4 separate regions of the Homo sapiens genome follow, and all the other regions are linked to region 1. Evidence: promoter capture Hi-C in human tissues and cell types (Jung and others, 2019). All regions are on one chromosome and are shown on one strand. Each heading gives the region's core, a stretch centred on a gene start or on the middle of the fragment in contact. The rest is flanking DNA. Distances are from core to core; before and after follow the strand shown. Region 1 holds the start of LRRTM3 (leucine rich repeat transmembrane neuronal 3). Region 2 has its middle 10 kb from the start of LINC01515. Region 3 has its middle 210 kb from the start of LINC01515. Region 4 overlaps LOC105378339 (a long non-coding RNA gene).

The links. Contacts are between HindIII fragments. The study calls those that stand out against the background at their distance.
Region 2: a fragment that was not itself captured here is called in contact with the fragment with the promoter of LRRTM3 in region 1 in 1 of the 25 tissues and cell types used here (dorsolateral prefrontal cortex).
Region 3: a contact is called between a fragment that was not itself captured here and the fragment with the promoter of LRRTM3 in region 1, in 1 of the 25 tissues and cell types used here (heart right ventricle).
Region 4: a contact is called between a fragment that was not itself captured here and the fragment with the promoter of LRRTM3 in region 1, in 1 of the 25 tissues and cell types used here (dorsolateral prefrontal cortex).

What each region holds. Positions count from the first base shown.
Region 1 is chr10:66,921,884-66,927,972 of GRCh38, reverse strand. LRRTM3 (leucine rich repeat transmembrane neuronal 3) reads right to left here and starts at 1,937. Exons shown (of 3, transcript NM_178011.5): 1 at 1,386-1,937; 2 at 1-1,052. The coding sequence starts at 1,389. All of the region lies in intron 7 of CTNNA3 (catenin alpha 3), which reads left to right. All of the region lies in intron 3 of LOC101928961 (a long non-coding RNA gene), which reads left to right. RefSeq lists a silencer at 1,965-2,074 and an enhancer at 1,694-2,550. The HindIII fragment of the contact is 13,899 bases long and covers 1-6,089 here.
Region 2 is chr10:65,557,592-65,564,482 of GRCh38, reverse strand. No RefSeq gene overlaps it. Among named protein-coding and RNA genes, the nearest start is that of LINC01515, 10 kb to the left of the region's middle. The HindIII fragment of the contact is 3,718 bases long and covers 3,131-6,848 here.
Region 3 is chr10:65,358,096-65,364,223 of GRCh38, reverse strand. No RefSeq gene overlaps it. Among named protein-coding and RNA genes, the nearest start is that of LINC01515, 210 kb to the left of the region's middle. The HindIII fragment of the contact is 6,059 bases long and covers 1-5,089 here.
Region 4 is chr10:65,859,181-65,865,424 of GRCh38, reverse strand. All of the region lies in intron 1 of LOC105378339 (a long non-coding RNA gene), which reads left to right. Among named protein-coding and RNA genes, the nearest start is that of CTNNA3-AS1, 220 kb to the left of the region's middle. RefSeq lists a cis regulatory region at 2,802 and an enhancer at 2,718-2,887. The HindIII fragment of the contact is 3,945 bases long and covers 340-4,284 here.

The sequences.
Region 1 (6,089 bases), core at 688-3,187:
GATCACATTTACTCCTTGCAGCTCTTTGGGACTGGCACAGATAATTGTATTCTCCCTTAGACCTTTAAAACTTTTCAGCCAGTTTACAAGGGAGCAAATATTTCTGCTGCATTCCCATATATTCCCAGCAAGACTGATGTCATTGAGGGATATCCAAGAATCCAAAATCTCTTGACCAATAAATGTGAGCTTGTTGGAATCCAGGTTGAGGCGCTGCAGATTCGGGACACACTGGAAAACACTGGGTCCACTGAAAGCTTCGATCTCATTGCCTGATAAATCAAGCCTTTGTAAGGAGCTCCAGGTCCAGGACATGGTCTGTCCTATGACACTGATTTTATTCCACTGCAAGTAAAGGTTCTGAAGGCTGACCAACCTTGGAAAAAGGGCCAGGTTGAGCTTGGAAAATTGATTGTGCTCCAGGTGAAGTTCTTTGAGTCTGATCATGCCAGCAAAGACATTCCTGGCTAAACTTCGGATCCGGTTATATCCCAGGTCCAAAAGTTCCAGGTTGCGGCAGTCTTGGAATATTCGCACAGGGATGGTTCTCAGGGAGTTAGACCGTAAATGTAAACTCAGCAGCTTCCGCAAGCCCCGAAACTGTTCAGATCCCAGAGAATGCAGCTGATTATAGGACAGATCCAAGTTCCGTAAATTTGTCACAGGTCTGAAGGTATTGTTAAGAAAATAGGAGATTCTATTGGAACTAAGAATCAGCTCTTTGAGTCTGCGTATTCCATTAAAAGCATTTTCGTCAATATTGCTGATATGGTTATGGTCAAGGTATAGCCAGGTGAGCTGGTTGAGCCCTTTAAATTGATTATACTTAAGTTTTTGAAGGCTGTTATAGCGAAGGGACAAACCTAAGCAACCAGCAGATATACTTGAGGGTATCTCCTGTAATTTCTGAGATTCACAATATACCATTTTGCCTTCACACCTACAGCCCTTAGGGCATCCTCGTTCGGCAGAAGAAAGCATTGTCAGTAAGACAGTGGGGGCTATAACCAGTGCTACAGCTGATCCGCTCAGTAGCCTAATTACATTGAAACCTGGAAATAAAAACAACTTAGAAAAGTTATCCCCCCAAAAAAGAATTAATCCTTAATCAAGCAAAAATAGGCATATATTTTTCATTTTTAAAAATTTAAATCTAAATAACACTTAACATCACATATTATCTCTTTGTAATTAAAGAGAATTGTCTTTAGTGTTTTGTTTTTTTAAATAGTTAAACAAGGAAACATGCCACTAAGCAAATAAATTCATAGTCTTAGAGCAGAGCAAGGTAATCTCTAAAATAATTAAGGCAGAATTATTACACACACTAGAGGTTTTTTGTTTTTTGTTTTTAAGAAGGAAAGAAGAAAAATGACAAAACATACCCATCCTTTGTATTGTTCAAAGGTCGTCCTTAGGTCTTTTGCTTTGGCTTAGGGGCCAGTTGCATGACAGCCCCTGTCAGCTGCACTGTAGTGAGTCAGGGCTCGCTGACACCCAGGAAGAAAAATTGGACCCCTTGGGAGATGGACCGATTTTGGAACATTATTCTTTGCCAGCCACGCAGAACACTCCAAGAACAAATAAATCCCAACACCGCATTCGCAGCAAAACATCAAAATCTTCCTAGGTAATAGGATCTTCATGGATATTACGTTTTTGCATCTTTACAGTTTTTTGGGGGGTGGGGAGGGGGCGGTTAAAAAAAAAACTGGATCCTACAATTTCTTCTTATCGAAAAACATGATGTATTCTTCCAGGCAATTTGGGGCTACCTGAGCTGCCACATCTGTATTCCATACCCCAGCAGTTCCCGTGATGAGCACCCAGTTCAGCCACAGAGCTGCGTTGGAGCCCAGAAGGCAGGAGAGCCCCGTACCGCGCACACGCTCAGCTCACTTCTGCAGACTGTCATTCTGAAAGCTGCTCGGACTGTTGCTTTGGTTTCAGTGAATGCAGTCTTATGTAAAGCTGCCCCCAGTGGTGAAGAACATTATGGGCATGTGCAGAAATGTCTCTCTTTTATCTTGCAAATGAGCAGGCTCTCTGCTGGAAAATGAATGATTCTTTTGGGTGGCTCAGTAGGAACTGAATGGTCACCGTGATCAATAACTAGCAACATTTTCTGTGATTTCCAAGTCTTGTTTTACAATTTGGCAACGTCTTTATTGTCTGTGTCCACTTAATTGCTAAACATGTGCTGCCCAGAGTTTTTCTGGAGCTTGACATTAAGTTCACAGACCGAACGTCAATTTTTCTTAACCTCAACGCAGGCTTTAAACTGAAATTTATAAAATGAATTATTGAGCTTTTCACAGAGAAGCATTAACTGCCTGCCCATTTGACCTCTTGGAGTCACAGTGATTATATTATGCAAGGTGTCTCAGGATGTTAGAACACAAACATTTTGGAATAGAGGGGATGACTGATGACAAGTGAATTAATGTGTCCAATAGCCTTTCCGGTTTTCTCACAGACGATATAATTGATTTTATGGCTATAGTTTCGTTTGTTGTTTTGGTTGTTGTAATTCTCTTTTAATTAGAAGGGAAATAAACCATTTTTAGTGTTAGGATACGAATCAAGAGATCATTTGGTTCATACTTTATTGATGTTGCTGCTATTTATTACACTAATAATATTTATGGAGCACTTTCTAAGTGCTTTAAATGGGCTACGTTGTTTTCTCTTTAAACAATAGTATGATGTGGGTCCTATTATAACCTCTCTTTTAAAGATGAGGAAACAGACTTGGGGAGGTAACTTTCTCAAGGTCATACAGCAAGCGAGTGCTAGAGCTGAGCTTCAGAAGCGAGTCATTCTTATGCCGAACCACTAACCACTAGATGATCCTGTTCAACAACATTGTTATCTTCATTTAAAAAAGAAGTCAGTGAAAATGAAGCCGATTAAAGGATTGGGGCAAGGAAGCTGTGATTAGCAAATTCTTGCTTGTTCTATTAGAATTGCCTAAATTTCTTTTGGTCTGAGGTTCCTAAAGAAGTATAAAAACTAAGGCAGCGTAGTTTAGTGATTAACAGCATAGATTTTGGCACCTAGATTCCAACTCCTGGCTACAATTTACCAGCTATGTAACCTTAAGCGCGTTACTTACCTTCCCTATGCCTCAGTTTTCTCATCTGCAAAACGGGCATAAAAACAAAAACTCACTTCATGTTTTGAGAATTAAGTCATTTTAATATCTGTATGTTACTTAGAACAGTGTGTTGCATGCAATAAGCCTGTGTAAGATATTTGAATAATATTAACTTTATTTGTACTTGCTAGGATTACGTACTGAATATTGACTATACTGACCTTCATTAACTCACAAAGAACAACTTTAGTGAGCATTTTTAAATATTGTACATGGTGGATTTCTGAGATTTACTCAGTCTTGCCTTCTTTGATGAGATAACTTCCTTTATGTTCATCATCTGAACTTTATCTTTAAAATAAATCTTCTGGTTCTGTGGATCATGACTAATAATGTTCGATTCTTTTCATCTCCAAAGTAGAACATAATAACATCTGCCATGTAGAGGCATTTTATTTAAAAATAATGGTATTCTTGAAAAAGTTTGCCTTGTTGTTTTTTGTTAGGTGAACTGTCTGTGGAAAACCGTGGAGAGCTTTCACATTCTCCAAGGATGAGATGTTTGATAAAGGCTAGTAATGACAATCAAAAGGGGTCCTACAGATATAGTACAATGGATATTACCAATTCCTTGGGCAGTATGTTCTTAATAGGGCAGTGCTTTCCCCCAGAGTTACCTAAGCTGTGAATGCACATGAAACATCCAGTGAGTTTCTTAAAAAGATAGACTGCCCAATCCCTCCCCCAGGATTCTCATTCTAGGGGGATGGAAGAGTGTGTGCTTTTCAATAGTCTCTGATGAAATAAGTTTAAGAAACTCACTGTGAAGGAATGATTAAAAATAATATTTTCTCCTAGTAGGAAGAGAGGGTTTGCACACTTATAATACTGAGATGTAAGTTCCACAAGGACAAAGACAATGTTTTGTCTACTTCATTTTTCCTAATATCTACAACAGCACTTGGCACATTGCAGACATGCAATAAATAGCTATTGAAAAAAATATGTTTTTATATCAGTCACAAGTACAATGGATATAGTATAACTGATTATGTAATGTTCAACATTTGTACATGGGATTGAGTCCTGAAAATTTCCTCAGTCAGTGAGACTGGAAACAATTTTGGAGAAAGTATTCTTAAAGGAGGTATATACAAAGACAAAAACTAGAAAGTGAGAAAACTTAGTTGATCAGAAAGTGATCTTTACTTTTCACAGATATCTTGTCTTCATAGTTAAACTACAAATTTCATGAGAACAGTAAATATGCTTTTGACTATTCTCCTTTGCACAGCACAGAAGGGTAATACTGAACCCTTATCATTTAATATCCCAAATGGGCTTGACAACTTGTATCTCTCAAAAACAGACTAATGAGAATTATATTGATAACTTCTCTCTCACACCTCTGTTGCTTGAAAGGCTCTGAGTTTTCCCCTCACTCTCCCACGTAGTCATTGAGACATCTGTTTTGCCCAAGAGCTGCAGAGAGCCACTCCAGGAGGCTGGAGGACCCATTAACTTTGTGCTTCTTGCTCATCATACTTTACTTCCCATTGACAGAAGAACAGAGGAACCCACTGAGAATGTGGGCTCTCACTTTGCTTTTCCTGGGATAAATCTTCTTGAATTATTTACGGTGAATATTATTCTCTGCTGTGTTACACACATTGCTCTTAGTTTTCAGACATTTTTCTTTTATCTTGGTTCCTGATCTTATCTTACTGCATAGTTCTGACTTTACACCTACCCTTTGGATCTTATGATTAATATTTATTTAGTCTTAATACTAACAACTGAGGGTATAAAATATTAGAGTGAGTAAATAAGACCTAGTATTGGCTAGCACAATGGGGTGACTATAGTCAATAATGAATTAATTGTGCATTTAAAAATAACTAAAAGTATAATTGGATTGTTTTTTATACAAAGCGTAAATGCTTAAGGGCATGGATACCACACTTACCCTTATGTGATTATTACACATTGCATGCCTATATCAAAACATCTCATGTACCCCATAAACATGCACACTTACTATGTACCCACAAAAATAAAAAATAAAATAAAAATAAAACAAAACTATATGACAGGAATGATGTGCTACAACAAAAATTGCTTTGGTAGCAATGTATTGATTGACAAGGAAAAATGTTCATAATGAAATAATATTAAGGAAAAAAATACTGACCATCAATCTCTTTCTCAACAGTAATCAGTAGCCACTCTTGGACTGAGTCAGCCTCCAGGAACTGTGTATGGCCCCTACTTTGGCACGACCCCTTAAGTCGGCATCACAACCAGGTCTGATCTGGTTCAGGATAATAAATTGTTTGAAGAGGGAAGATTATCCATGAGGCTAGTTGAGAAATCCAAAACAAAATAATGTGATTCTAAGCCACACTGAATACTTGAGGCTGCAGAAGTTACTGCAAAGACATAGAGTAGTCCCTCAAGAGAAAAAGAAAAGACTGTGTTCTAAAAGATTTTAGTAATTTGCCTGTATACTTTTTAAAAGTTTTTTCTCCTTTTACTTGTCGACTATAGCGAGCTGATTATTTCTGATTTGCCTTTCAGCAGAAGCAAAATTATATTGCATTATGTATTTAGAAACTAGCAACTTCTTTTGCACTTAATATCGCATACAGAACAAACCGTAAACTACCTGACGAGTTAAATATCCCCAATGCATCCAGGGCCTTAATGATTTATACAATTATAAAAATAGTGTCATGTATCTAAAGACTTTTTATTTTATTGTGCTTATAGGACTTCAAATAGCTAAACATATTTTGTTTAAATTGGGTAAATAAATCAAATCTCAGTTTGGCAATACTGCCAAATTTTAGTCCAATATGAAACTGAGTTGCCAGATATAAACTTAGAAATTCATAACTGAAAGAGAATGGACTGATATCTTAACAGTTGTTGACTTCAGATATTTTATTTATTTTACAAATATTTAATTTGAATAACCATTGTGTGCTAAACA
Region 2 (6,891 bases), core at 3,740-6,239, 1.4 Mb after region 1:
AATATCTCTATATATTCAATATTGGATTTATGAAAAAGAAGAAATAATTAAAGAAAAGGAAGATACTAAAAAATTTAGTAATTTCCCCAAACTGAAAAATCTATATTTCTGTGCAACAGGCTCTTTCAATAACAGATATGTGAAAATATAATCCTATTCACTCTGTCAATGAGATATTAAGAACTAGAAATGCCTGAATTACTTTAAGAATTGGAAATTCAGATTTTATCTATCTCAATTTAATATTCACATAAAAATGCAAATTTCAACTGTATTTTAAGATAAGTATTGGTAAATATTTTTGAGTGTTCTCAAACATTCATTTGTGAAGGTTTTGTTTTTATGTAGTGATAATGTCTCATTATTTACTTCATTGGGTAATTAGAGGATGTATATATGGTTGCATAATATATTTCAAGTGTATTTCAGAGCTGACACGTATTTGTTGAATCATGTATGGTAGATACACAGTGTAAGCTAACCACGTTAATAAACTATACTATTATTCAGGATTCTAATCTGTGGAGAGCAGTCACAGGGTTCTGCAATGTAACCTTTTCAAGCATTCTAGAATAATTAAATCATGAAGGAAGGGAGTAGCCCAATTAATTGAGAGCTATGGCTGTATGTCTCCTACCCCTCAACATAGAAAAACAAACCCAACAACTGGGACTGTTTCATGGGTATGTCATTGAGGTTAGTAAACGAAATAGTGGAAATTAGGGAATTTGCAATTTCCTAATGACATATAATATAGAAAACTTTTTCATAAGCTTGCTTGTGCCTCTGTATGTTTTCTTTGGTGAGGTGTCTTTTTAGATTTTTGGCTCGCTTTTTGAATTGGGTTTTATTTTTTATTGTTGGGTCTTAAGAGTTTTTTATATATTATGGTATGTGTTTTTACAAATATTTTGATTTTTGCAAAACACATGGCTTGTCTTTACATTTTCCTAAAAATGTCTTTTCAGAGCAGAAGTTTTTAATTTTAATGAAGTTCAATTTATCAAAACAGACCTGCCTCATTTAATTGGGCTTTGCTTTATTGCCCTTGACATATCAGCTTTTTAGAAATTGAAAGTTTGTGACAACCCTGCATTGAGCAAGTCTATCAATGCTATTTTTCCAACAGCATGTGCTCGCTTGTGTCTCTGTGTGACATTTTGGCAATTTTCCCAATATAGCAAACATTTTCATTGTTACTATATGTGTTATAGTGATGTGTGATCAGTGCTTATCAATGTTGCTATTGTAATTCTTCTGGGGTACTATGAACTGCACTTATATAAAACAGCAAACAAATAATAAATGTTCTGTACATTCAGACTGCTTTACTGACTGGCTGTCTCAGCCCCTGCCTGGACCTCCCTATTAACCAAGACACAATAATATTAAAATTCCATCAATTAATAACCCTACAGTGGTTTCTAAATGTTCAAGTTAAAGGGAGAGTCACACGTCTCTCACTTTAAATCAGAATCTAGAAGTGATTAAGTTTAGTGAGAAAAACATGTGAAAAGCTGAGATAGGTTGAAAGATGGGCCTTGCGTGCCAAACAGCCAACTTATGAATGCAAAAGAAAAGTCCTTGAAGGAAATTAAAAGTGCTACTTCAGTAACACAGGAATGATAAGAAAGAGAAAGAGCTTTATTGCTGATATGGAGAAAATTTTAGTAGTCTGAATAGAAGATCAAACCAATCACAACATTCCCTTATTAGGCCAAAGCCCAACCCAGAGCAAGGCCCTAACTCTCCCCAATTTTGTGAAGGCTGATAATGGTGAGGAAGCTGCAGAAGAAAAGTTTGAAGCTAGCAGAGATTGGTTTGTAAGTTTCAAGGAAAGAAGTCACTACATAACATAAAAGTGCAATGTAAAGGAGCAAGTACTGATGTAGAAGTTGTAGGAAGTTATCCAGAAGACCTGGCTAGATAACATAAACAACTAAACAACAGATTTTCATTATAGATGAAATAGCCTTCTATTGGAAGAAGATGCCATCTAGAACATTCATAGCTAGAGAGGAGAAGTCAATGCATTTTTTCAAAGCTTCAACAGATAGGCTGACTCTCTTGTTAAGGGCTAGTAAAGCTGGGGACTTAAGTTGAAGCCAATGCTAATTTTCCATTCTGGAAATCCTAGGGCTGTCGAGAATTATGTCAAGTCTACTCTGCCTGTGCTCTATAAATGGAAAAACAAATCCTAGGTCACAACACATCTGTTGACAGCATGGTTTACTAAAGATTTTAAGCCCACTATTGAGAGTTACTATTAAAAAAATCCTTTCAAAATATTACTGCTCATTGACAATTCACCTGGTCATGCAAGAAGCCTAATGGAGATAAAAAGGAAGATTAATGTTGTTGTTTTGTTGTTTTTATGCTCCTCATATAACATCTATTCTGCAACCCATGGATCAAGGAGTCATTTAGACTTTCAAGTATTTGTATTTAATAAATACCTTTTGTAAGACTTGTGAACCCATAATATCTGAGACAGGTCTCAATCAATTTAGAAAGCTTACTTTGCCAAGGTTAAGGATGCACCTGTGACACAGCCTTAGGGGGTCCTGATGACATGTGCCCATGGGTACAGCTTTCTTTTCTGCATTTAAGAAAGACATAATACATCAATCAATACATGTAAGATCTACAGTGGTTGGACCTAGAAGGGCTAAGGGGTGAGGTTCCTGGGTCATAGGTAAATTTTAAAATTTTCTGATTGGCAATTGGTTGAAAGAGTTATTATCCGTAAAAAGGAATGTCTGGGTTAAGATAAGGGGTTGGGGCTGGGCATGGTGGCTCAAGCCTGTAATCCCAGCACTTTGGGAGGCCGAGGTGGGCAGATTGCCTGAGGTCAGGAGTTCGAGACGAGCCTGGCCAACATGGTAAAACCTCATCTCTACTAAAAATACAAAAATTAGCCAGATGTGGTGGCAGGCACCTGTAATCCCAGCTGCTCAGGGGATGGAGGCAGGAGAATCGCTTGAACCCGGGAGGTGGAGGTTGCAGTGAGCTGAGATCATGCCACTGCACTCCAGCTTGGGCAGCAGAGCAAGACTCCGTCAAAAAAAAAAACTGATAAGAGGTTAGGGAGACCAAGGTTTTGTCATGCAGATGAAGCCTCCAGGTAGCAGGCTTCAGAGAGAGTATATTGTAAATGTTTCTTATTAGACATAAGTTCTTCGTTGACATTAACACTTGAGGAGTATAATGAGGTATGTCCAACCTCCTATTCCATCATGGCCTGAACTAGATTTTCAGACAAATTCCAGAATACCCTTAGCCAAGAGGAGGGATCCATTGAGGTGGTTGGGGGGCGCTTAGAATTTCATTTTTGGTTTGTAGACTATAGCTGCTATAGATAGTGATTCCTCTGATGGATTTGGGCAAAATAAATTGAAAACCTTTTGAAAGGGATTCACCACTCTAGACACCATTAAGAACACTTGCGATTCATGGGAGAAGGTCAAAATATTAACATCGACAGCAGTTTAGAAGAAGTTGATTTAAACCCTCATGGGTAACTTTGAGGAGTTCAAGACTTCAGTGAAGAAAGTAACTGCAGAATTGTAGATGGAGCCTGAAGATGTGACTGAATTGCTACAATCTCATGATGAAAGTTGAATGGGTGAGCAGTTGCTTCTTATGGATTGGCAAAGAAAGTTGTTTCTGAAATGGGATCTATTCCTGGTTAAGATACTGTGAACATTGCTGAAATGACAACAAAGAATTTAGAATATTTTCTAAGCTTAGTTGATAAAGCAGTGGTAGGGCTTGAAAAGATTGACTCCAGTATAGCAAGTTCTATTATTGAAACTGCCATTGCAAAATCATAACTGCGAAAGTTATTTACAGTGAAAGGGATCTGACCTAATTGACTTCATCTTGCTTCTAACCACTGAGCTATCCTTGTTCATTGGTGGGTGTAGGCCAAACTAACTTTGAGAGGAACTTAGTTTATAGTTTAGCTTTGAAACAAAGTTGGTAACAGCCCTGTTCCAAAACAAACCCACTTCCTGCCTCGGGACTGGACTGGCTTTGCAGGACTATCAAATTAGCCACAAGAGTAGAAATATGGTTTAGGAATTATGCAGCTGGAGGCTACAAGATTCTGACCCTCTGAAATTGCTCCTGCAGACAACATCTCTATTGTAAAACCTAAGAACTTAAGATATTTGCAGACCCTGCACTTGATGGATCAGCTGGCACTACTCAGATCGATAAACTTGTTCATCTGGATTTTTGGCCCCCATAGAGAAACTGACTCAGCGCAAGAGGACAGTTTTGACTCCCTGTGATTTCTTCTCCAACCCAACCAATCAGCACTTCAGATTCACTGGCCTCCTACCCACGAAATTATCTTTAAAAACTCTAATTCCCGAATTTTCAGGGAGACTGATTTGAGTAATAATAAAACTCCAGTTTTCCTTACAGCTGGCTCTGCATGAATTATTTTCTTTTTGTTGTTGCAACTCTCCTGTTTTGATAAATTGACTCTGTCTAGGCAGCAGGCAAGGTGAACCTGTTGGGCAGCTACACTATGGGTAAAACGCTACCAAACAGCATTGCATGCTACAGATAAATCTTTTGTTAAAGGAAGAGTCAAATGATATGCCAAACTCCACTGCTGGCTTATGTTAAGAAATTTTCACAACCACCCAGCCTTCAGCAACCTCTACCCTGATCAGTCAGCAGCTGTCAACATGGAGGCAAGATCCTCCACCAGTAAAAAGATTACAATTTGCTGAAAGCTCAGGTGATTATTAGCAATTATTTTTGGCAATAAATTATTTTCTAATGAAGCTTTGTACTTTTTAAAACATAAGGCTGTTACATACTTAATAGATTACAGCGTAGTGTTAACATAACTTTAATATGCACTGGGAAAGAACCAAAAAGCTTGCATGGCTCACTTCATTGTAATGTTTACTTTATTGTGGCAGTTTGGAACCAAACCTGCACTATCTTTGAGTTATGCCTTTTTTTTTTAATTTCATGACGGTTTGGTCTTATGTTTAAGACTCTACACCCAACACAGATTTTCTCCTATGCTATCTTCTAGATTTTTATGGTTTTTCATTTTACATTTAAGTCTATAAGTTATCTTGTTAATTTTTGTAAAAACTATCAAGATTCCTTTTTTAAAAAATTTTATTGGATGTGTATTTGTTTCAGTTCCATTTGTTGGGAAGTCAATGCTTTCTCTATTAAATGACCTTGCTCTGGTAAAAATAAAGTCAATTAGGGTGTGACAAAAGAGCTTCCCTTGAGGACACGCTTTTGTTAAGGAGGACAGAAAGCTCTGAGTGCATTTCAAAATGGCTACTTTTCCCTTCCTTCTGCTGGAAACAGGAAGGGATACTTTTTTCTCATCTTCTCCATAAGAATCTATTTAGGCTCCTGAAGGTTAAGATTCATGAAAGTACTGTGATACACAGTAGAAATTTTCCTTGACATACAATAGGGTTACATTCTGATAAACCCATCATAAATCTTGTAAATTGAAAATGCATTTAATACACCAGACCTACAGAACTTAGCCTTGTTCACCTTAAGTGTACTCAGAACACTCACACTAGCCTATAGTTAGGTAAAATCACCTAATACAAAGCCTATTTTATATATATATACATATATATGTATATATAAAGAGCAAATATATGTATATATTTATATATATATAAGAAAAAAGTGTCAAATATCTTATGTACCACATAGTCCTAGGCCAGGCAAAGATCAGAATTCAAAATTCGAAGTATGTCAAATTGTGATGGTTTGCAAAGTTGTGAAGTTGTCAAATCATTAAGTTGATTGCCCTTCTCTCCGGTTTTTATGGTGGCAGCTTGCCCTGTGACAGCAATTATTAGATAGATTTAAGAAGAGTTGTTCCTTTTCAAATTGTTCGATTATTTTCTTGTTGTAAGAATGAGAGTGACAACTTCCAAGTCCCAAAACAAGAAATTCATCTTACTTTTTACCATAGTCTTGACAGTAACTTCTGGGCAACCTTATGTAAATCAGTGATATTGACTTCTAGATTTTGTATGTATAAATAAAAATTGGACAAGATCGATATTTTCAAAATAAGCTTTATGATATTTTAGCAGACTTTAAAACAGCACACTAGTTGATGGTAAAATAAAATGATCACATATTTGTTAAAGTTCTTCAGAGGCAACTGATAAATAGCAGCCCTTTTTCCCATAAGACTTCATTTGAAAAATAGAATGGAGTAACATATGGAAGCTAAATTATAACTCATAGAATGCTCAGGCTGCAGAATGTTATTTCACATACACTGAGCATGTCTGCTCACTCAAACACAATCCCTAAATTGGGCAAACTATTCAATCACTGAAACCAAGCCACTCAGGTCTGGGGCAGCAATTTTCTAAGTAATAAAGTACCTGGCAGAACAGTGGCAGGTCCCTTTGCCTGAGGAGTAGTTTACTTCAAGAGGAAGAAAGGAAGAGGAGTGCTAGGCATACTAAGTTCTTGCTCCCATACTCACTAACCAAGTGTCACTTCACTACCCTTCACTACCCTTTGGGACAAAGTGAGTAATGGTATAGTTAGAGGCCAGAAATAAGCTTAAGAAAATCCTGTCTATATAGAAAACAGTGGAGAGGCGGGAAATAACAGAGTTTAATAACTTTTAACATTGTCGAGCTTTTATTAGGCCAATGCTCAGAGATTTCCTGATAGGGTTAGAGTTTGACTTGCCAACTCAGATTTTCTTAAAACCTAAATAGATATCTCAAACTTATAGTCTGCAACCAGACTTTGCTTTATTATTTCCAGTAGAGTATGGTTTTTCCTTTGTAAATTCCTGTCCACATTTTTAGTAAGAGATTTCACCTGAAAGTTTAGATATTCAGCTCCTCATAAATCTTT
Region 3 (6,128 bases), core at 811-3,310, 1.6 Mb after region 1:
TCCTGCAGAATGTTGATATGAAAATGCATAGCAAAGAGGAATTCACAGAGCAGACTGAGAAATGGCCAGAGGTGTATAATGTAAATGGAAAATGAAAATTATCCCAGAAACCACGGGAGAAAAATATGTTTGAAGAAGGAAACACTGGTCAGTAGTGACAAATGTTGCCATGAAATAAAGAAAACTGAAGTCTAAAAGATGCTCATTGGATTATCATACTAAAAATTTAATTAAAATATTTTCAGTGACCTGGTAAGGTAAAAATTTAGCTTAAAATAAATAAATCATTGATGGAACAGGATATACCAAATTCAGTACTTATAGTGTAAGCTACTATTTCCCAAAATGTTAGGGGAAAAATGATAGGGCATGTAGAAGAGATTTAAAACCAAAATAACATATTTTGTGAATGGAAGCATTTTCAACATATTTCTATGCAGAGAGAAAGAAACAAATGTAGAGGAAGATACTAGAGAATATTTGATGAAATAAAGATACTGAGTATTTGGAAAGAGGATAAGAGCCAAATCAAAGATAAAAGAATAATTTTTTGATATAAGCCTGAATATCACTATCTCTGACTTCAATACATATTAGATAACATTATAGGTAAACATGTCTAACCTTAGAGAGTTGATAACTGATAAGCTCTCTTGTTTTTGTAAAATTTGAAGCATAGTCAAAGTCATATGAAAGAGATGGAGACAAGGTAGCATATTTGAGAGGAATAAAGATAGTAAGGAATAGATTTCCCAAAAGTGAGATAAGAAGAGTAATACTCTGGCTAGGCACAGTGGCTCACACCTGTAATCCCAGCATTTTGGGAGGCTGAGACAGGAGGATCACTTGAACCCAGAAGTTCAAGACCAGCCTGGGAAATATAGTGAGATCTCATCTCTACAAAAAACAAAACAAAAATTTAGTCAGACGTGGTGGTGCATGCATGTGGTTGAGGCTACTCAGGAGGCTGAAGTGGAAGATTGCTTGAGCCCAGGAAGTAGATGCTGCAGTGAGATATGATGACATCACTGCGCTCCAGCTTGGGTGACAGAGCAAGACTCTATGTTTCAAATCAAAACAACAACAACAAAATAAAAGTAAGACTCTGTATGTGGATTTCACCCAAGCCAGTTGTGATCCTGGGGATGGCCACATGTGGGCGAGCAGCTGTATTCAAATAACATATTATGCTTAAATTAATGTTCTTAGACTCAAGCCAATTAATACAAATTTATATTATTTTAGAAATGAAAGCATTAATCATCCATATCCACAAAGGTTTATGTCAAGTTAACAAATCAAAAATTAAATTTAGATACACTGGCACCATGCTTCATTGAATATTTATCTTAGGATTTCATTTGCAGTCAGATAACTCATTTCTAATTCAGTCAATGAATCAACTACTAAGAATTTGTTTTAAGTATCAAATATGAGCGTAAAGCTAGTCTGGAAGGCAATACAGGAAAATTTTAAGAAATTATACTGATCTTCAAGATTCTTAGACTCTAGAGCAGCGAATAATATAAAAAGTGGCAAATAAAATAGCACATTGTTGTCAAAATTCACAACTGGACAACTAATTATAAATTGGTATAGCAGTTAAATCAAGCCTGAATATTTATGCATTTATTAAGCTTTGAAGTATGAGCTAAAGTCTTCGACTTGAAGTACCTTACGTTATGATTTAGAAGAAAAAATAAATACCCTCAAATTATTTTCAGGAATAGAAGGCAATACTTATCAAATGACAAATGACAGGAATAAAATATGTATGGTACTAACTGGATAATTATGGAATCGGTAATAGTTGATAAAAATATTAAACGGGTTTAATGTTTTATGAGAAAAAACAAGATACATAAATAAAAAAGAATCAGAGATTTGAAAACAAATTTTTTAAAAAGCAAAGTATCAGCCCCAGTGGACAAACCCCTAAAATATACAGACTACATTTGGGTTAAATAGATGAATTCCCAGTTATAATGAACGAAGGCTGCATTTGCAATGACCCTTGTTCACGAGCACATATTGCATTCCTTATTACCATTTCTCCTACTGAAGAAAATGTACAGGGTGGAGTAAGTATGAAGTCACTTTCCTAGGAAGCATTAAATAATAATTAATGAGACAATGGTCAGTAAGGGGATGGAGAACATAGAGCACTATTTGGAGTGTGCCTCTTAGTAGAAGGAATTTAAAGGGGAAGACAACATGAGTGAAGGCATCATCATCAAAGACTAAGACAGAAATAGTAAACCATTTACACAACAGTAGTGCACTGGTAATATCCAAACATATGATACAATTTGGAGGAGTGAAAAGTAAGACTGATTAGGTAAGAGTAGAATACACAATGGGAGGCTTTGCAAGTCAGTGAGAATAAATTTGGTTTAAAGCAATGAAAATTAGGAAGCCATTAGAACATTTTGGAGTAAGAAAGTGGTAAAAATAGTATTGTCAGATAATCTACCAAGATCTAGGGTAGAAGAATATTTAAAAATAATTAACCCAGCCTGTAGGAAGACTAAACTATTGCTCAGGATAGATTGGATTCGGATAGAGCTGCAAAGAGAGAAAACAGCAAAGAAGACCATAGAGTGTAACAGTATCTTCTCTCCTGTTTTTATGCTTTGGGAGTGGAACTATGTCAAAACATTGCAAAATTTCTATTTGTGATAGAATATCAGCATATGTTTCTAGCAAACTTTCAGGGCATTGTAACAAAATTTTAAAAATATACACATAAATTTCATGGTGCCTTTAGACAAATATAAAGTCATTAGACTTTAGACTTTAGTCTTTAGACTATAGACTCTAAAATCTTTCGACTTAATATTAGTCTAAAGGCACCATGGAATTTATGTGGATTCGAGTTTTACAAATAAATAGAACCAATAGAGTATATAGAGAGATATATATGAGGAGGTTTATTATGAGAATTGGCTGATACAATTATGGAGGCCAAGAAGCCCCACAATAGTTAGATATGCCATCTGCAAGAAGGAGAGGCAGAAAAGTTGGTAGTGTAATTTAGATGAAAGATGAATGCCTAAGAACCAGGGAAGCTGATGATATAACACCCAAGGACTAAGGCTGACAAGCTGGTGTAAGTTCCGAAGTCCAAAAATAAGGAGCATCAGATGTCCCAAGCCAGAAGAAGATGGATGTCCCAGCACAAGCAGAGAGAGCAAATTCAACTTTTCTCTGCCTTTTTGTTTTATTCAGGTTTTCAGCAGATTGGATGATGCCAACCCCACAGTGGTGACGGTGAATCTTCTTTACTCAGTCTACTGACTCAATCACCTATCTCTTCTAGAAACACTCTGAGAGACACACTCAGAAAGAATGTTTATCTGGGCATCCCTTAACCTCATCAAGTTGGAACATAAAATTGACCATCACAGTCTTGATATGTTAAAATATCACATTTATCTCAGGAAATCTGCACTAAGCTTTTATTTTTAAATGTTTTATGGGAATAATCTTAATAAAATCTGACCTGCGATGTGTGATGAGATTAAATTAGTCTCAACTTATTTAAGTGCAGGCACACGATAATATCAATATAATCTAATAACATCAAATAGTTCTTTACAAATATGTATTGCACATGCCAGAAGCCAGATACTATGTGACAATGAATTCACATATAAAATTGGCTATGAAAAGAAATGTTGTCTAAATTCATTATTCAAGTTTTCTGCTAAAACAGTGGTTAAAAAAAAACTGTAAAATTTGAATTAATCCATTATTGTTCCTATCATAAGACACAGATTTTGTTTAAATGTCCATCAAAGACAAACTTTGTCAGGTTTTCTCAAGCTCAATGTATTTTAGGATGAGGGAGGCAAATATTGGAGGTTTCAGACACATACAGGCAAATTAAAGAATTTCTACTACATATAATACATCTAAGTACAATAGTTAACTAAAGGTGTCAAAAGGCCAGGGTGGGTCTCAAGATCTAGGGAAAGACTGGGCTGGTATTCAAAAGAAAGGCATAGATTTTTAACTTGGATCTGCTACTATGAAAATTTCAATTACACTCACCCAATCTTGTTTTCCTTGTCAGTGAAATGGTTAGAAGAGTGAGGTAATAATACTAATTTAATAATACTACTGGGCAGAAGTTTTGATCTAACATTTTGGGAGCTTACTGTGAGTGAACTGAGCATTATAAATTCTTTACATGCATTATTTTCATTAATCCTTAAAACAGCTAGAAGAGGAAGTGTCACTCTCATTTCCATTTTTATATAGGGGAAGTGTAAATTTCAGATGAGAAAATTGAGTTTAGTAAATTATGCAACTTTTCCAATATACTTAGGTCATAAGTGCTGTGAAGTATTATGCATTGTTATGCCCCTCTACTGCAGAATGACAATGTATAGATAACAATGGAAAAAATAATAAGAAATGCTTTGTATACTATAAAGTATGTTATAAATATACTATAATTATTTTATTTTACTGTATTATAAATATGCTGTGAAAATTTTTGAGCCTAATGAATTTTTATGTTATCACAGTACTTTCCATTAAAAATACTGAATAAATATTTGTTAAATGAAGAAAGGAAGGAAAGAGAGGAGTATATTAACATGATGTAGCTTACTGGAGAAAGTAAGGAAAACCTATGAAGTTGAACCATATCAAAGTACCATTTTTGTAAGACAAAATGGTTGATAATATGCAAATTCATATAGCTCAAACTAATGTAAATAACACAACAAAACTTTACTCAAGTTATCTTCAACTTAACTTGAAGAAATTATTTTATTTAAGAACAAGTGCATTTTGGCTTCTGGTGTTGTATCTAATGATAAATGCTGTGGCAATTCTTTTGTTCCCTGTAATACCCCAGAACACCATGGCTTAAGACAACAATTTATTATTTCTCACAATTTTGCTTTGGACTTAGAATTCCTATATTTGCAAATTCTGCCTGACAAATGAACACTTCCTTCATTTGTTCATCACTCTTTTTCCATACCTCATAATGTATACGTCTAAAAGAAAATAAAAATAGCTGATGCTATGAACAGTCTGCCTAAAATTCCCCTAAACCAAATACACAAGTTTCTTACATACATTCTCTATTTTTATTTACCACTGATGACATTTTACCACTTTGTTTTTCCTTCTACATGACATCGTCTCCCTTTCTTTGGCCTCCAGTGGCAGTTTTCTCTCTGCCCTTCCAGCCTCCACTCACGATCTCGTTGCTATTCTGTTGTCTCCATTCCTAACCAGTCCCAACCCCAATGTTACAAGTTTTAGATTTTTGAAATGAAATGTTATACATTTTTAAATCAGCCCCTAATCCTGATTTAGGGTATTTCAGTCTTCCATGTCTATGTAATAAACCATCCAAGATTCTCACTGCTGAGAACTGCTATTTATTTTTTTCACAATTCTACAGATGGCCTGCTGGCTCCCCTGCTGGCTTCTCTTGGACTCCCTCATGTGGCTGCATTCAGTGGGAGCGTTGTTTGAGCTGGAAAATTCAAGAAGGGCTCTATGGCATGTCTGTCTTTGGTGTCTGCTGTTTGCTGGGGTGCCTTGATTTTCTTCCACATGGAGTTCAAACTATTATCATTTCCCTTTCCCACCTCCTCATTTACTTTCAAAATGTAGGCATATTCTCCTCAAATTCACCTATACTGCAAAGTACTAAATGATTTATTCTAGTAGACTTCAGAGGTGTTACACTGCCCTTCAGGGACAATTTTGAATATTTTTGGAGGTATTTGTGTCTTTTGATAGAGATGTTTTTAAGAATTTACATATAGCAATGCATATTTTAAAAATATACTTTTCTTCAAACTTACTTTGAGTTTCAGTTATACACTGTATTGATGTTATCATTTTTAAAGTATAACACATGCAATACAATTTAATAAATTAAGTGTACACTTCGATAAGTTTTATAAACTTATAGTCATGGAACCTCTAAAAAAACCATGAATGAACTTAGCCATCACCTCAAAAAGTTCACTCATGGCCTGGGCCCAGTAACTCACGCCAGTAATCCCAGCACTTTGGGACGCCAAGGCTAGAGGATTGTTTGAGCCCAGGATTCAAGACCAGCCTTAGCAACATAGCAAGCCTCCATCTTTGCAAAA
Region 4 (6,244 bases), core at 1,063-3,562, 1.1 Mb after region 1:
GTCTAAGACCTTGATGTTAATTAAAATACGAGAAAATCAAATTAAAACAAACAAACCCCCATGGCTCTGTCCCACACCCCATAGAGCTATACATGAACTAAAGGTGGTAGCTGTCATATCACTTAACTACAAACCTGGGAGGATGGGTCAGAACATATCACTCTCCAGGGCAATTTTATGGGAGGTACTGTTACCCTGTAGTCTTGTTTCATGAAAAATAATGCTGGCTGAGTGCAGTGGCTCATGTCAGTAATTCAACACTTTGGGAGGCTGTGGTGGGAGGATTGCTTGAGCTCAGGAGTTCGAGACCAGCCTGAGCAACAAAGTGAGACACCCATCTCTACAAAAAGCATTAATAAATAAATTAGCCAGGTATGGTGGCATGTGACTGTGGTCCCAGCTACATGAGAGATTGAGGCAGAAGGATCTCTTGAACCCAGGAGGTCTTGAACCTAGGAGCTCAAGGCTGCAGTGAGCTGTGTTTACTCCAGTACACTCCAGCCTAGGGGGCAGAGCAAGACCCTATCTAAAAAAAAAAAACAGAAAAGTAATGCTACCCCTGCAGCAAAGCTAAGAGCAAGACTCCTGCATAGCATCCCTTCTTCATTCTGATTCCCTATCATACTCCCCATGTCTATTCTTTGGGATGTTTTTCCCTAGGCCTCATGGTCATAGTCTCATTCACCACATGCTAGTTTAACACACCATGTGTTCTGTCTCCCCTCCCCACTACTTCAGAGTTAGGTTTCATTTTACTTACAAATGTCCAGTGTAGATAGACTTTTTATTTAACTGTGAGACTTCTTGGGTTCTTTAAAAATCTACTTTTATTTTGAAACAGAAAGAAATTATAGAGGAAAAAATTTCCCCTCCAGTTTGAAATAAGGCCTTCCCTCCTCGTTTCCTCTAAACCTTGTACATCCCTTCTTGGCCTCTTAATTTCCACAATAAATTGCCTTAATTTTTAGCACCAGATGTTTGGGAAACTACATAGATTTTTTGATAAAATAAATCCCAGAACCAAATCAAGAGGCCTCTTCTCATTGAATACTTTTTTTTTTTTCACATCCCAGGCACTTTTCCTTTTTTCCTTGACCTTCTGTTATTGTAAGCATGTGCAATTCTGCCCATCATGGAAAAACCTTCACATTCTACCAGACTTTTAAGTGAAGAATATGTTTTTTTTGTCTCCTTTTACTTATTCTTTTTAGGCCTTGCCATCTGGTTTCCATTCCCAATTTTGTTTCCAATAATTTTTCTTCTCCAAATATATTCCTGTAGCTGAGTCTCTACTCACTCTCTTCTTACTCTGTTTTCTTACATTAATGTATTTTGATTATACCCTTTTCTTGACATCTTTTTTGAAAATGTTACCTGAATTTTTTCTTCTCCAATCTATTCTTATATTTTTTGAAAATTTTACTAATTTTAAATGTTTATTTTAAGAAATTTCTTAGTTCACCAATCTTTGCATTCCACTTCTATAGAAAAAAAATAGCCAAGCATAGTGATGTACACCTGTAGCCTCAGCTACTTGAGACTTTGAGGTGGAAGGATCACTTAAGCCCGGTGGGCTATGATTAAGCCCCACTGTGCTCCAACCTAAGCAACAGAGCGAGACCAGGTCTCTAAAATAAATAAATAAATAAATAAAATACGTTAATTAATAGAAAAAAGAAATGCGATTTTTCTTTCTTCACAAGAACAGGTTTCAGGAATTAACCACTTTTAGTCTCTCTTTGCATCTAATTAATTCAGTCTTCTCCTCTGGGAAATATATTTACTCTTATTATTGAACATCTTATATTTACACTAGGAGTTGGGGGGTCACTACATTAAGAAGACAGTGTGTGCCCATCTTTTTCTCCTTTGTGTTCCCTCTCCTGCCAGCAGTCATGAACTTGAAAAAGGTCTATGTCTAATCTTCTATGTCATTAGCTATAATATCTCTGTAGACTCAGTTCTTTCCACCAATGGTCATGCAGTTCTAAATGTAAGGAGTTCTAAATGTGGCCCCCACTTTGATCATTGAGCTAAGCTGCATTCTCCAATTTAACTTTATTAGAGGGCCTTATTCTTTCAGAGTAGTGAACTATTAGGAAACTGCCTGGCCAGTTAGTAATACTAACACATGAATCCTCAATTCATATCCAGCCAGGCCCAGTTGCTTGGGTCTACTCTTCATTGGTTATAAACCCAAGCAAGGCATAAATAATTCTTAGAATGACTTTTATACCTCCTCTCACCACGGCAAACTGTTAAGGAATTGGCAAGAAATCCTTATAAATAAGAACAGATACTGGATGGGTTTGATTGAAGTACTGTACAGGAAATCAAGCTTTGGGTACATCTGCTGAAACTGGCCAGGTGAGACACAGGTGGCACATTTGGTAGCTTCTCATACTGTGACCACAGATGTAATTATAGACCTGGATATTCTAGATGCCATATTGTCATAATATTTTGTTGTTGTTGTTGTTGTTAATTTCTAGGTAAGTCTTACCTCAAAACAACTTCACTATGCTTTTTAAAGCATAATTGGCAACTTGTCTTTTTCAGCATAGTTGACTGGAAGAGATCTTTTTTTTGTTTGTTTTGTACTCTTCCCTTTTATTATGTCCTTACCAGGATGCAGGCAATCATCCCCAATCACACATAGTCTAAATTTTATTGTTTATTTCATAAACTCTGATTATAGTCTATAGACCTGGGCTGTAGGTTAATTATACTGAATTAGTTAATCTCACTGACAAGCAGACAAAAATGAGTGGGGATCCTTATATGGAAATATGTCATTTTCTTGGATTGAGGTGGAAAAATATTTTTATGTAATTCTGTAATAACAAAGTCTGGGGAGAAAATTAAAAAGACTTAAACCTAGATCTTCTAGGTATCATATGTGTTTAGAGGAGAGTGAATGGTAACAGTTACAGTTCAAAATTATCTTCAGTCTAATTTTGAACATGGAAAAATGAAAGAAAAGTAAAATGGGACACATGTTGCCAGATGGAAGGAAGTGACTTCTTGAGAAAGATCAGATCTTAAAGATCAGACTGGCTATTTATCTATCTTTCTATCATCTGTCTGTCTATACAATAAAAAAGGAGATCTACTTTATACACAAAAGTGGAACTAAGAAGTAGAAGTAAGAAGAGGAGATAATTGAGCTATTATTGGTCAATTAGCCACTAGATGTTAAAAAAATCTAACAAAATATAAAAGAGAGGAACTCAGGTACCAAATTAATTAATGCCTCCAGAGGAGCTAAGACCCCAAGATCTATACAAGGAGTTCTCTCAAAGCTGTAAATCAGGAATTAATTATAAAAGCAATTGAGAAACAGCTTATAATGATGAATTCTGCTACAAGATGGTTCAACATGTGAACAAATTTGAATGAAGAAGACCTGGAAGATCAGGGTGTAATATTTTTATACTTATTAAATATGCCTTAAAGTAATAGAGTTTCTATAAGGGTATGGCCTAGGGAATTTAAATCAATTATAAATAAAGCACAGGGAGATGGAGAAAAAAAAAACAAAATCAAGTACTAATGCAAGAGAAGGTGATCAGAATTTGCTTGAATGGTGTAATCATGTGGCAGATTCAAAAATTCATTGTTTCTACATGTCTCACAAGAAGACTCTGCAAAACAAAATCTGAAGAACAGTATGGAAGGCAAGGGTTGTACTTGAAAGCTAGGAGGCAGGAGGGCTTCAGATTCCGTGAAAAGTACTATAATCATCCTCCCACAGGTTTTTCCTGCTCACTGTGCAGACAAAATTGGTTCACAGAGACCATGCCATTGCAGTAGAGAAAGAGTTTAATTAACCTGAGGCTGGCCACACAGGAGAATGGCAGTGATCACTCAAATCAATCTTCTCAAAGGCTCAAAGGTTAGGGTTCATATAGACAATTTGGTGGGCAGGGCAAGGGCCAGGTAATGAGTGCTTGCTGATTCATTGGAGATAAAATCACAGGGGTGTGAAAAACAGTCCTTGTGTTTTGAGTCAGCTGCTGAGTGAGGCCACAGGACCTGTTGAGTCATTAGTCATGAATCTGGGTAAGGTCAGTCTGTAAAACAAATCAAATCAAATCTTATGTTTTACAATAGTAATGTTATCTATAGGAGTAACTGAGGAAGTCACAAATGAGACAAAGCTTATAAGCAGAGATGCCAAATATTTACTACATAAAGGCAAAATGTTAAGTAAGTGGTTTTAAGTGTGTAGGATGAGAAGTAAAGGCAAAAGGGAATCTCAGAAGATGGGAAGCTAGAGGAGGGGGGATGTACACATTGTATATGTCTACATTTTGCAAGTAGATGCAAAAGATTTCAAATGCTGGCCTCTGAGAAGAGAGGGAGTGTGCTTATATGAAATTTCCTCTTCCTTCATTGTATAGAAAGCTTAATATCCCATTTAACTGGTTGATATAAAATGGCTAAAAATGAGAATAAAATTTCTTTATTTAACAATTCCTCTTTCTAGTTTCAAGACTCCACCAGAGCCCCTGATTGACAAAGATATTAGAAATGTTCATTGTACTTTATATTGAGTTCAGAGGTTATTTCATTTTTACTTTTGTTTGGTATTTATACTACTTTGGTGATCTAAGTGTCTTTCTTCTGGTTTGGTATGTGTCATTAATTTTGAAAACTTTCAACCAATATCTTTTAAAATGTGTTTTGCTGTCCTGTTTCTTTCTTCTTCTTCTGGATTTCACTTACAAATGAATGTAATGGTATTACAAATAAATGACACAACCCCACTGAAGGATGTAGAACCTACCGAAGTAACCTTGAAAATGGCATTTTTACTATATACTAAAAGACAAGACAAAAAGAACCATATGAAAATACTGTATTTTTTAGTAAATTAGTTTTTCACAGGGTAATATGGATACCTTGTGCCTCTTTGCTTTCATTTTAGTAGCTTTTAAATGTTCCTCCCCACTAATTGTCCAAACCAGTCTTCACCCCTCTGAACACAAACAAAAGTGTGCTAATTTTACTCAAAGTCATTCTGTTGTTAAAATATTCTCAGCCTGTTTTCCCTCCATGTCTTCCCTCCCTTTCAATGCAATTACCTTTTTTAGCTACAATTAGCTTCCAGGGAGCACCTACTATGTGGCAAGCATTCTGAGTACTTTACACAGACTCATATCCTCACATGCACATATGTAAGTATATTACATACACATGCACATACTCTCATAAACATATATTCATAATCACATTCACAATTATAATCACATACTTCGACTCAATCACATACTCATAAACATGGGCAGGAAAACATATACATGCTCAAATATATATGTATTCACATGATCACATACACAATAACATGTACATACACAATCACACACACATGTACAATCACAAGTACATACAAAATCACACAGCTATGTGAAATCATTTACTTATACAAAGTCACATACACAATCATATACAATACACATTACATCCTCTTAAAAATCCTATAAGTTTGGGTCCCATTATTATCATGTTCATTTTTCAAATGAGGAAATGAGGTACAAAAGTTGTATGAAATTATTCTGCTTGTAAGTGATACAGCCTATATTTGAAATGTGAGGAGTCTGACTCTAGAGTCCATGTTCTTAATCAAAATGTTATACGTTTTGGCACCGAAACATTTTCTTTGGTTTTTAATACTAGTAACTGTTTTCACTGTCCACTACTCTGTGTTTAGCCTGTAATAATTCATTGTCTGCATTATCTTTTTAACCATGTTGTTTTGTTCCAAGTTATGACCTTCTAGATGGCTCCAGGGGTCTAAATATAATTCCCTTTATAAATTTTCCTGCATTTGTAAAGAAAGTGTATTTTCTCCACTATTACAAATTCATATAAATTAATCTGAAGGTTAAATATTTTTTAAATTAATATTTTACAAATTTCTAAATATTAAATAACTATGTGTTCAAAAAAAAATTTGAAATATTTTATATAAAATATAAAGTATTCTAAGGCCAAGTAAATAAGGAAATACCTTGCAGATAATGAGAGTCCATTTTCTTCTTCCAGTGAAGGAGTTATAAACAAGGAAAGAAAAGGCTAGAAAGAATTCCATGGAGTTAATTTGGAATTAGAGTTGTCAGTATGAATTCTGACTTAAATATTGTAAACATAGGTAGATAAATATATAAATAGAGTTAGATATATGTGTATGTGCATATGTCTGTTCAGAAGGCTAAGAAAAAACCTACACTAGTAGTAGAAG